2 separate regions of the Homo sapiens genome follow, and region 2 is linked to region 1. Evidence: promoter capture Hi-C in 16 types of primary human blood cells and fetal thymus (Javierre and others, 2016). All regions are on one chromosome and are shown on one strand. Each heading gives the region's core, a stretch centred on a gene start or on the middle of the fragment in contact. The rest is flanking DNA. Distances are from core to core; before and after follow the strand shown.

Region 1 (4,465 bases), core at 1,441-3,940:
ATTTTTATAAAAGAGTGGTTTAAGGGGCCAATTTGGCTGGTGAAGCCCGGGGGCAGTAGGTGTTGGAAGACATATTTGAAAGCTGCCTTTAGAAAGCAAGCACATATTAATTACGTCAAATGTTTTGGGGGATGAGATGACTAATGAAGATCAACTCACTCACTCCCAACCCCTTTGGAGCTGCCACTGTGGGAAAATCACTTAGTAGGCTATTGTGGATATCTAGGCCAGAGATTATGATAGCTGGAACAAAAAGAGTGGCAGTAAGAATAAGAGCAGGCAGGTAGTAGAAAATAGACTGATCATGACCTGGTCTCATTGACACGTATGGAGGGCAGTGAATCTAAGGTGACTTCCTGGTTTGGGACTCAGGATCTTTCATCAGACAAGGAAAGCCAGAATGGAAGCTTGTTTGGGGGTAGTTGGTTGGAAGGAGACAAAAGATTAGCTAGTGATAGAGCGAAGGATCACTAATCAGAGTAGAATAACTTTTTTCTTGAGGCAAGGCAGTTGTGGAGAAAAGGAATCACACAGGACCTCAAGTGGAAAGTGTGGGAGCAGACAGTGTAACTGCCCAACGGGTTCACCTTGCCTGCTGCCTAGACAGAGCTGATTTATCAAGACAGGGGAATTGCAATGGAGAAAGAGTAATTCATGCAGAGCCAGCTGTGGGTGAGACTGCAGTTTTATTACTCAAATCAGTTTCGGGGGATTGAAATTTTTAACAATAATTTGGTGGGTAGGGGCTTGGGAAGTGGGGAGTGTTGACTGGTCAAGTTGGATATGGAATCATAGGGGGCTCTAAGTGAGTTTTTCTTGCTATCTTCTGTTCCTGGGTGGGATCGCAGAACTGGCTGGGCCAGATTACTGGTCTGGGTGCTGTAAGTGAAACGAGGGAAGTTCCCCTATCCCCCTTGCAGGGCATGCCACAGCGGGAGTGGCTCACTGCTTCACAACCTCTAGGGGGAGCATGCAGAGGGGCAGGCTGTGGGGCTCCGACCCCATGGCAACCTCTAGGGGTGAATATAACATTTGGGTGGGAAGGCAGGAGTGCCTATCCTCACCTAGGTCCATGGGCACAGGCCCCAGGGTGGAGCCCTAGCCACGGACCCGCCTTTCTCTGCCCAGCACTTTCCTGCCCCGCTCCTGTATCATAAGCTGGTGCATCTGAATGCAGGGTCTGCAAAACATATCAAACAGTGATCTTAGGTTTTAAAACAGTGATGTTATTCCTGGGAGCAATTTGGGGAGGTTCAGACTCTTGCAGCTGGAGGCTGCATGGCCCCTGAATTGTAATTTCTAATCTTGTAATCTTGTGGCTAATTTGTTAGTCCTGCAAAGGCCGACTGGTTCCCAGGTAAGAAGGTTTTTTTGTTTTTTTGTTTTTTTTTAGTGGGGGGCAGCGGGAGGGAGAAAGGGCTATTATCAATTTTGTATCAGAGTTAAACTATAAACTAAATTCCTTCCCAAGGTTAGTTCGGCCTACGCCCAGGAATGAACAAGGACACCTTAAAGGTTAGATGTAAGATGGAGTCGGTGAGGTCTGATCTCTTTCACTGTCATAATTTCCTCAGTTACAGTTTTTGCAAAGGCAGTTTCAATAATAGTACTCTGTTTCCTGCAGTTTCTCTTCCTTCCTTCCCTTTTTTTCTTATCAAAGTAATATATGTACACACTTACGTGTAAATAATACATGTAGTATATCATATATTAATTATAAATAATATAATTAAACTACACATTTATTTAAAATAACATATTTATAACATATTATTTAAGTATTAGTTGATTATATTAAATATAATTAAATGTCATATTAATCTTATTATTATATATCATTTATACATTATAGAAATATATATAGCACAGAAGGGCTTCAGATAAAAAATAATAGTCCCCTGACATATCACGTCCTATCCCCTACCCCATTCTCCAGAAGGAACATCTTTGAACCCCTCTGGGCATTTTTCCTGGTGTGCATATCCCTACCAGTAGTCTTTCTGTTCTCAATTCTAGACTTCACTTATTTACAGATGGGGTCTCGCTATGTTGGCCAGGTTGGTCTTGAACTCCTGGCCTCAAGTGATCCTCCCTCCCCAGCCTCCCAAAGTGCTGGGATTAAAGGCATGACCCACCACTCCCAGCCCTAGACTTTATTTATTGACTTCTTACTATGGTACTTCCTTCACTTCCTGTTTTAAACAAGTGGGAAGATGAATGTGTGTGTTAAAATTCCTGATGAATCCCTGGTTTCAGCAATAACGATAATTTATACAGTATTTGCTATGTGGAAGACACAGTTCTAAGCGCTTTGGATGTATTAATCATTTAATTACAAACTCGATTGCAAGAATTAACAATAAAAAGCAGGAAGGCAAAGACAATGCTCGGTCTTCCCAGTCAAAAACCATTACCGGTAACCAGCAGTAAAAAAGAGAAGCTCAGAGGCACTGAAATTGCAACCGGCTCCTTTAATTCTCCATAGCGGATGGGTGGGGCCAGGCCCACCCACATTAGAGAGGCTGAAGGCTCCCAGCGCCCTACCCCGCCCGAGGGGCGGAGCCTGAGCCAAGGCCACGTGATGATGACAGACGGCACTCTGGCTTTCCTGGAGCTGTCTCTATGGTATTCTTCCCAGCCCACCCGTCCCTTTGGTAGCGGCAGTCACGTGACAGACTCCGGGGTAAGGCAGATGCCCACGTGATCCTGGCCTGCAGTTGGGTGGCTGCGGTGAGATACCTGGGTTCCTGAAGGGCGGGTGGTTAGGTCGTAACTACTGCCCCCGCCGGCTGACTCTCCGAGCGGCCGGGCTCGGAAGCCACGAGCCAGCTGAGGCGTTCTCCGCTTAGTGCCTACGGCATGGGTCAGCTCTTTCTGCCACCTCCGCCTTCGCGGTCCTCACCTCTTTGCGGGTGAAGTTACCTTTGGGTTTCCAGACCTTGGGGGCCTGAGGCCCAAACTCGGGACGAACCCCTAACCCACCTCTCTTTTCCTGTCATTCTCCAACTCTTACTTTGTACCACGGAATCACTTGGCCTTAAAGCTAGCCAGCTCGGCCGTGCCTTGAGGCCAGGTTCGAGAGATAAAGGTAACCGTGGGGAAAGCGGCCCCCCAGTGGACAAAGGCGGAGGCAAGAATAGAGCAGGCCTGAGGGCCATAGGCGATGAGAATAGGCAGTTGAGGGGTGAAAAAGAAAACAAACAAACAACAACAACAAACCCTGAAGAGTACTGAAGATTTAGAAGGGACTGGAAAGGACTTGTTGCGCAATGGAAGAATCTGACTCTGAGAAAACGACGGAGAAAGAAAATCTGGGGCCGAGAATGGATCCACCACTAGGGGAACCGGAAGGATCGCTTGGGTGGGTGAAGGGTATTTGTGAAACCTGGAAGTGGGGGTGTTCAAATTGAAGAGAGTATTGTGAATTAGAACACTTCTCCCCACCCCGCACCATGATAAATTGCTTTGATTTACCAGTAATGTTGATTGGGATTATGCTTTGGACGACAGGATAAACTGGAAAGCGAATTGGTGCTAACTGATCAGAAACAACCCTTGGGAAGGGGCTGATATTCCTGGTGGTGGTGCTGGGGGAGTGTTCTAATTAAAGCAGTTATGAGTTGCTTTGAATTATCAGTAAAGGAGATTTGCTGTCACCAGGTTGGGGATGGAAAGACTAGAAAGAAGATTTGCATTTCCAGGTCAGAGCTTGAGGGTGTTTTCTGTGCCAATTTGTACCTGAATTTGAGACTTACATCTACTTTGTGTCTGTGATGAGTGAAATAGGGCTTGGAAGGACAGCTGAAGGACTAAAAAGATACTTCCAGATTTTAAAATTAGGAGGCTGAATGTTTTTTATACATAGAAGATATTCAATACTCAGTCCTCAAGTAGAGGATATCAATATATTCTGTTTTTTTAGAAATAGAAGATATTGTTTGATTAAAGCAGCTGTGTTGCTTTGATTAAGATGATGAAAAATTGAATCTTGAATTTTAATGGCTCATTTGTATTCCTAAATAAATCTTCCTAGGAGTTCTCTCTTGAACTTCTAATTAGGAGATAGAGAGTATACACACAGTTTTATAATTTAGGAAAATGGGACCTCTATTCATCTGAGGTCCCACACACACAGCTGTACTCAGCCGTTGTACTAAACATGCTCTTTTGTACCTCCATGTTTATTTATACTTCATTAATTTCAATTTCTAAGGGAATTGGATCATGGAAACTGTTTTTTGGTTTATATCTGCAGGTGGGTGCTACCAAATACAGCCATGAAGAAAAAGGTAAGACGTGTTAGATACGTCAAAACCATGAAGGTAAAGGTAAGAAGTTGATATTCAGGAACTTTGTGACATATATACACCATCTTTTCTGGACTATTGCAGGAGCCTTCTGTGTGGTCTGTCTGACTCTCTTCTCCTTGTATGCTATCAGATTTAATTTTTCTAATATGAAAATC
Region 2 (4,343 bases), core at 974-3,473, 240 kb before region 1:
CAAAATGCCATCTCCATACAATGCATTTTTATAATCCCGTGTGTTTAGTTATATATATTTATGTTAAAAATATCATTGTCTTAAGGGATCCACCGGCTGTACCAGGATATCAAAGGGATCCAAGGCACCAAAAGGCTGAGGATCCCTACTGTGATGGTTAATATTAGGTGTCAACTTGATTGGACTGAATTGAAGGACGCCTAGATAGCTGATAAAGTATTGTTTCTGGGTGCATCTGTGAGGGTGTTGTCAGAGGAGACTGACGTTTGAGTCCGTGGACCGGGAGAGGAAGACTCATCCTCAATGTGGATGGGCACCATCCAATTGGCTGCCCGCACGGGTAAGGCAGGGCAGATGGAAGTAGGTGGGACAAGCTGGCTTGCTGAGTCTTCTGGCTTTCATCCTTCTCCCGTGCGGGATGCTTCCTTCTGTTCCTCCTGCCCTCGGACATCAGACTCCAGGTTCTTTAGCCTTTGGGCTCTTGACTGACTCAGCATTTCCTTCTAGGTCTGCTAACCCAGAGTGGAGCAACTCTTTGCTTAGCTGTGGCTGACAAAATGCCCTTCCCTAGGGGAGAAAAAGCACGTTTTCCTGCACAAGCCAGTCTACAATTCCAAAGCACTTTCCCTCCGGGTGCTAGTATGTGACTGAGGTTTGGAAGTTTTTTTAGCTCCTTTTTTACCGGACACCTGTTTTCTTTGTGGAGGCCTCTTTATGTAGCCCTATCCCTACTGACAAAGGGGCAGGGATAGAAGGGTCAGGCGTTGGAACTGCAGTCTAATCTGAGTGACATGACCCCTTTTATAATCTGTGGAAACTGCCTTGGTAGTGCTTCTGTGCTCTGAGTGCTCCTTCTCTCTTGATTTGGGAGATATGAGATATGAGAAGGCCTCTTGGAGGAGGCAACACTTGACCTGGGTGTAGAGGAGAACAAAACCAGGGTGGAGGATAGATCCTTAGAGGTTGGTCTAGACCAGGACAGCTTCTGTCGATGCAGCACAGCCTGGTGGTTAACATCCAGTCTTTGTGACCCAGCTCTGTGTCTTAGTTACTATTTATTTTGGAAAAAATAATCAAGTTCTCTGAGTCTCATATTCTTTATCAAGTATAGCCAACAGTAAGACACACCCCACTGGGAGAGCCCTGCCTGATGAGTATTTGCTCAGGTAACAATCCCATGTAATGTGCTGGAAAATATGCTTCCAGAGAGCTAGCACTTCTTATCTGCTATGGACATGTGTGGGTCAAAGAGAGTATTTGGACACTGACACGTGGGACAAGAGATATGACTATTTTTTCTTTTTAGCTTCAACCATATGTAGATAGCAAGCATTTTGCTATCCACCAAATGCTTTACAAAGACTGTTAGTTTTAGTCTCCTCTACAATCCTTGGAGGGCTGTGCACAAGACTCTGTTACTGGCCCAGTGTTGCCAGTTAATAAATGGCAAATCTGGGATGTGATTTCAGCTCAAGTCTTTCTGGTGCCTCAGTCATCTTCTTCCTAGTTAGGCCTCACCACAGGTACCTCATCATAAATAAGTAGAAATCATAGGCCAGTCAGTTTAATTCTCTATTAAAGGGTTGGTGAGAAAGAGGGTTCAAATTGTAAGTTTGCATATAGAATACAGGTGTGTCTTTAAGGGGACTCTTTTAAAAACAGATCAATTTAGGGCATGGTTAGATTCTGGATAAGGCCTCATCTGCATACAAAAAGGATTTTCTACACCTGTCCTTAGATACCAACTTCTCTGATACATTTAAAACATGATACAGTTTTTAAAAATTTGATTTTCTGTGCAATCCCTTCCTCAACTCCACTTGCTCCACCTCTAGCTGCAGTCCCTTTCTCAGATTTGGCATACCCTCCTGGTATAAGGGAAGGGGAAACTGCTCCTAAACGGTAGCCAACATGGCAACATTATGATCTGGATTTTTTGGGAAAGCTTTAACTTCAAATATTCTGTGATTGTTGTTCCGTTATCTGCAAATATCATATATCTCTTTACTAAATGGAATAAAGTAGTAAAATAAGGAATTTTGAAAAAATAAGTCATTTTAACTTAAGCAAAAGTAGTTTCAACAGAGTGGTGCAAGCAGAAACCAGAATGCAGGGAACTAAAGATGGAGCAGGAGGTAAGTGAAAATAATGTATGAAAAAAACACATGTGAAAGAGTTTGGCAGTAAAAGGAAGGGGAGCAAAGGTAATGTATTTTTCTTTTAAACATGATCCCCAAATCTGGATTTTAAAACAGACTCTTGGGTTTCTTCTGGGGATAATATACACTCAGGAGAAGTATTGGGATTTGGAATACTTTTTTTATCTCTTACAGAGATGATGGGACAACATTTTTGAGGAACTACCATAGAAAATCTAGGATGTCTAGTTGCTGGATTTTATCTGTCTAGCAAAAACATGGCTGTTACTAGAATAGAGGGAAGTGTGTAGGAGTAAGGCCCTCTGACTGTTAGGAATGGACGAGAAGAAGGAGGCTAGTGGGTGAAGCTTCAGAAAAGAAGCAGTATTCCTTTTCCTTTGAAATGACAGTGAAGGCATGGAGGATGGATGGAAACTTAAGTGTGTAGATGTGGGTAAATCAGGCATTCTTATGAGATTTTTGATTTCAGAAAAATAGGACATGAAGTCACCTGCTGAAGCTGAGGCTTAGAGTGTAGAACGGAATGTCTTCATTTATTCATTCATATATTCATTCAGCTAGCATGTTAAGTACCTGCCATAAACTGTGGTAGGCCTGTGGGATTTATAAACACATAGGTCCGGCCCTAGCCTGGAGTAGCCACTACTGTGTGTTTGGAAGAGAATCAAGGTAAAGGAAATGAAAGTAATTCAGAAACAACAGAAGCTGTACATTACAAATCAGTATTGGACCACTTGGGTAAGGTCCCAATAGGTAAGTCCCTCCCCGGGCTCGTTGGAGGAGCTGGTGTTGTGGGCATTTTGGGAAGATCTGAGGGAGAGGGGTGATAAAAGTGACACTCAAAGTGATGGCTATGGTGTTGAAGTTAGAAAAGAAGTCTTGTATGGCTAAAGAGCTGATGGTTTTACAGACCGCAAAAACATGAGATCTTACAGTCACGTCTTGGGGCTCAGCCTGGCATATAGCATTGAGTGAGGCTATATGTCTTATATTGGGGGTAATATTTTGGCTTCATCCATCATGATTATCCTTAGGAAAGTCATTTAGCCTGATCTATCTGAATCAGCCATTTCCACAGAAACAAATACCCCTGTAGCATGGGCAACTTTGTGTAGTAGATAGGTTACTCTCTCCTTGCAGGTTACCTGCATCCAGATTTGTCAGAAGCTGCCTTCTGTACCACGCTGGTTTATCCTGTCTTCCATAGCAAAATCAGGAAAAGCAAAAATATATATATTTGAATTATCTATACTGGATTATGATGGGACATGCATGGGCTTTGGGGACCTGCATTTGAATACTGGCTTCACTGATTAGAACAGTAGAGTGAACTTAAGCAAATCACTTTTCTATTCTGATTTTCACTTTCCCAGTTTGCGAAATATGTTCAGTAATGATTGTCTCCCAGAACTATGAGGACCCAGGACCAAGTGAGATAATAAAGGTAAAGCAGTTAACACAGTGCCTGATTTAAATCAGTACTCATATAACATTATTGCTTTTTTTCCCTTTTATTTGGAATAAGCATTTCATTACTGTGAGTAAGGTTTGAAGTCTAGCACAGGTCAGTGGCTGAGCTGAAACTTGCTTCTTAAAGATGTACAGGGACCCACTATAGTTTCTTAATTTTATATGATGAAGTTCATCCAAGGTCACTCCTCCTTCCCTTTTCTCTCTCATGCTTTGTGGTCTTAGGAACTGATGCTCCACTAATCATATAGCTTGGTTAGTATGTTCAAGACCCTTGGCTGCAAATGACAGGATCCCAACTGACAACTAGCTTAAGCAAAACAAAGGACTCTATTGGCTCAGATAGCTGGGAACTTTGGCGCTTCTGGCACAGCTGGATCCACAAGGTTCAAACGATGTTCCCTGGGCTCTTTCTCCCAATCTCCAGTTCTTTCTGGTTTTCTCTTTGTGTTATAGATATTGACCTCTCAAAGTCCCAGAATCAGGTTATCATAGCATAGTGACTACAGCTTGGGGGTGGGATCAGGAGGGAGACACGTTTTTTCTTCCAGTGTCCACATACCTTCAATTTAGCAACAGACTCTGATTGGCCCTACTTGGGCCCTATGCCCACCCTCAGAAGAAATGCTCCTGTGGGAGGGGTACTGGTAGAGGGACAGGGGAATTGAGAACTCTAATCTGGCCCAGCCTGAGTGATGTGCCCACTTGGGGAGG

The links. Contacts are between HindIII fragments. The CHiCAGO score rates a contact against its expected background, and 5 or more counts as called.
Region 2: a contact is called between a fragment that was not itself captured here and the fragment with the promoter of RRAGB in region 1, in 2 of 17 cell types (non-activated CD4 T cells and activated CD4 T cells). The highest score is 6.5, in non-activated CD4 T cells.

What each region holds. Positions count from the first base shown.
Region 1 is chrX:55,715,059-55,719,523 of GRCh38, forward strand. It overlaps RRAGB (Ras related GTP binding B), which reads left to right and starts at 2,691. Exons shown (of 10, transcript NM_006064.5): 1 at 2,691-3,361; 2 at 4,256-4,289. The coding sequence starts at 3,270. RefSeq lists enhancers at 2,820-3,019, 3,180-3,309. The HindIII fragment of the contact is 6,209 bases long and covers 406-4,465 here.
Region 2 is chrX:55,479,658-55,484,000 of GRCh38, forward strand. No RefSeq gene overlaps it. Among named protein-coding and RNA genes, the nearest start is that of USP51, 8.0 kb to the right of the region's middle. The HindIII fragment of the contact is 561 bases long and covers 1,944-2,504 here.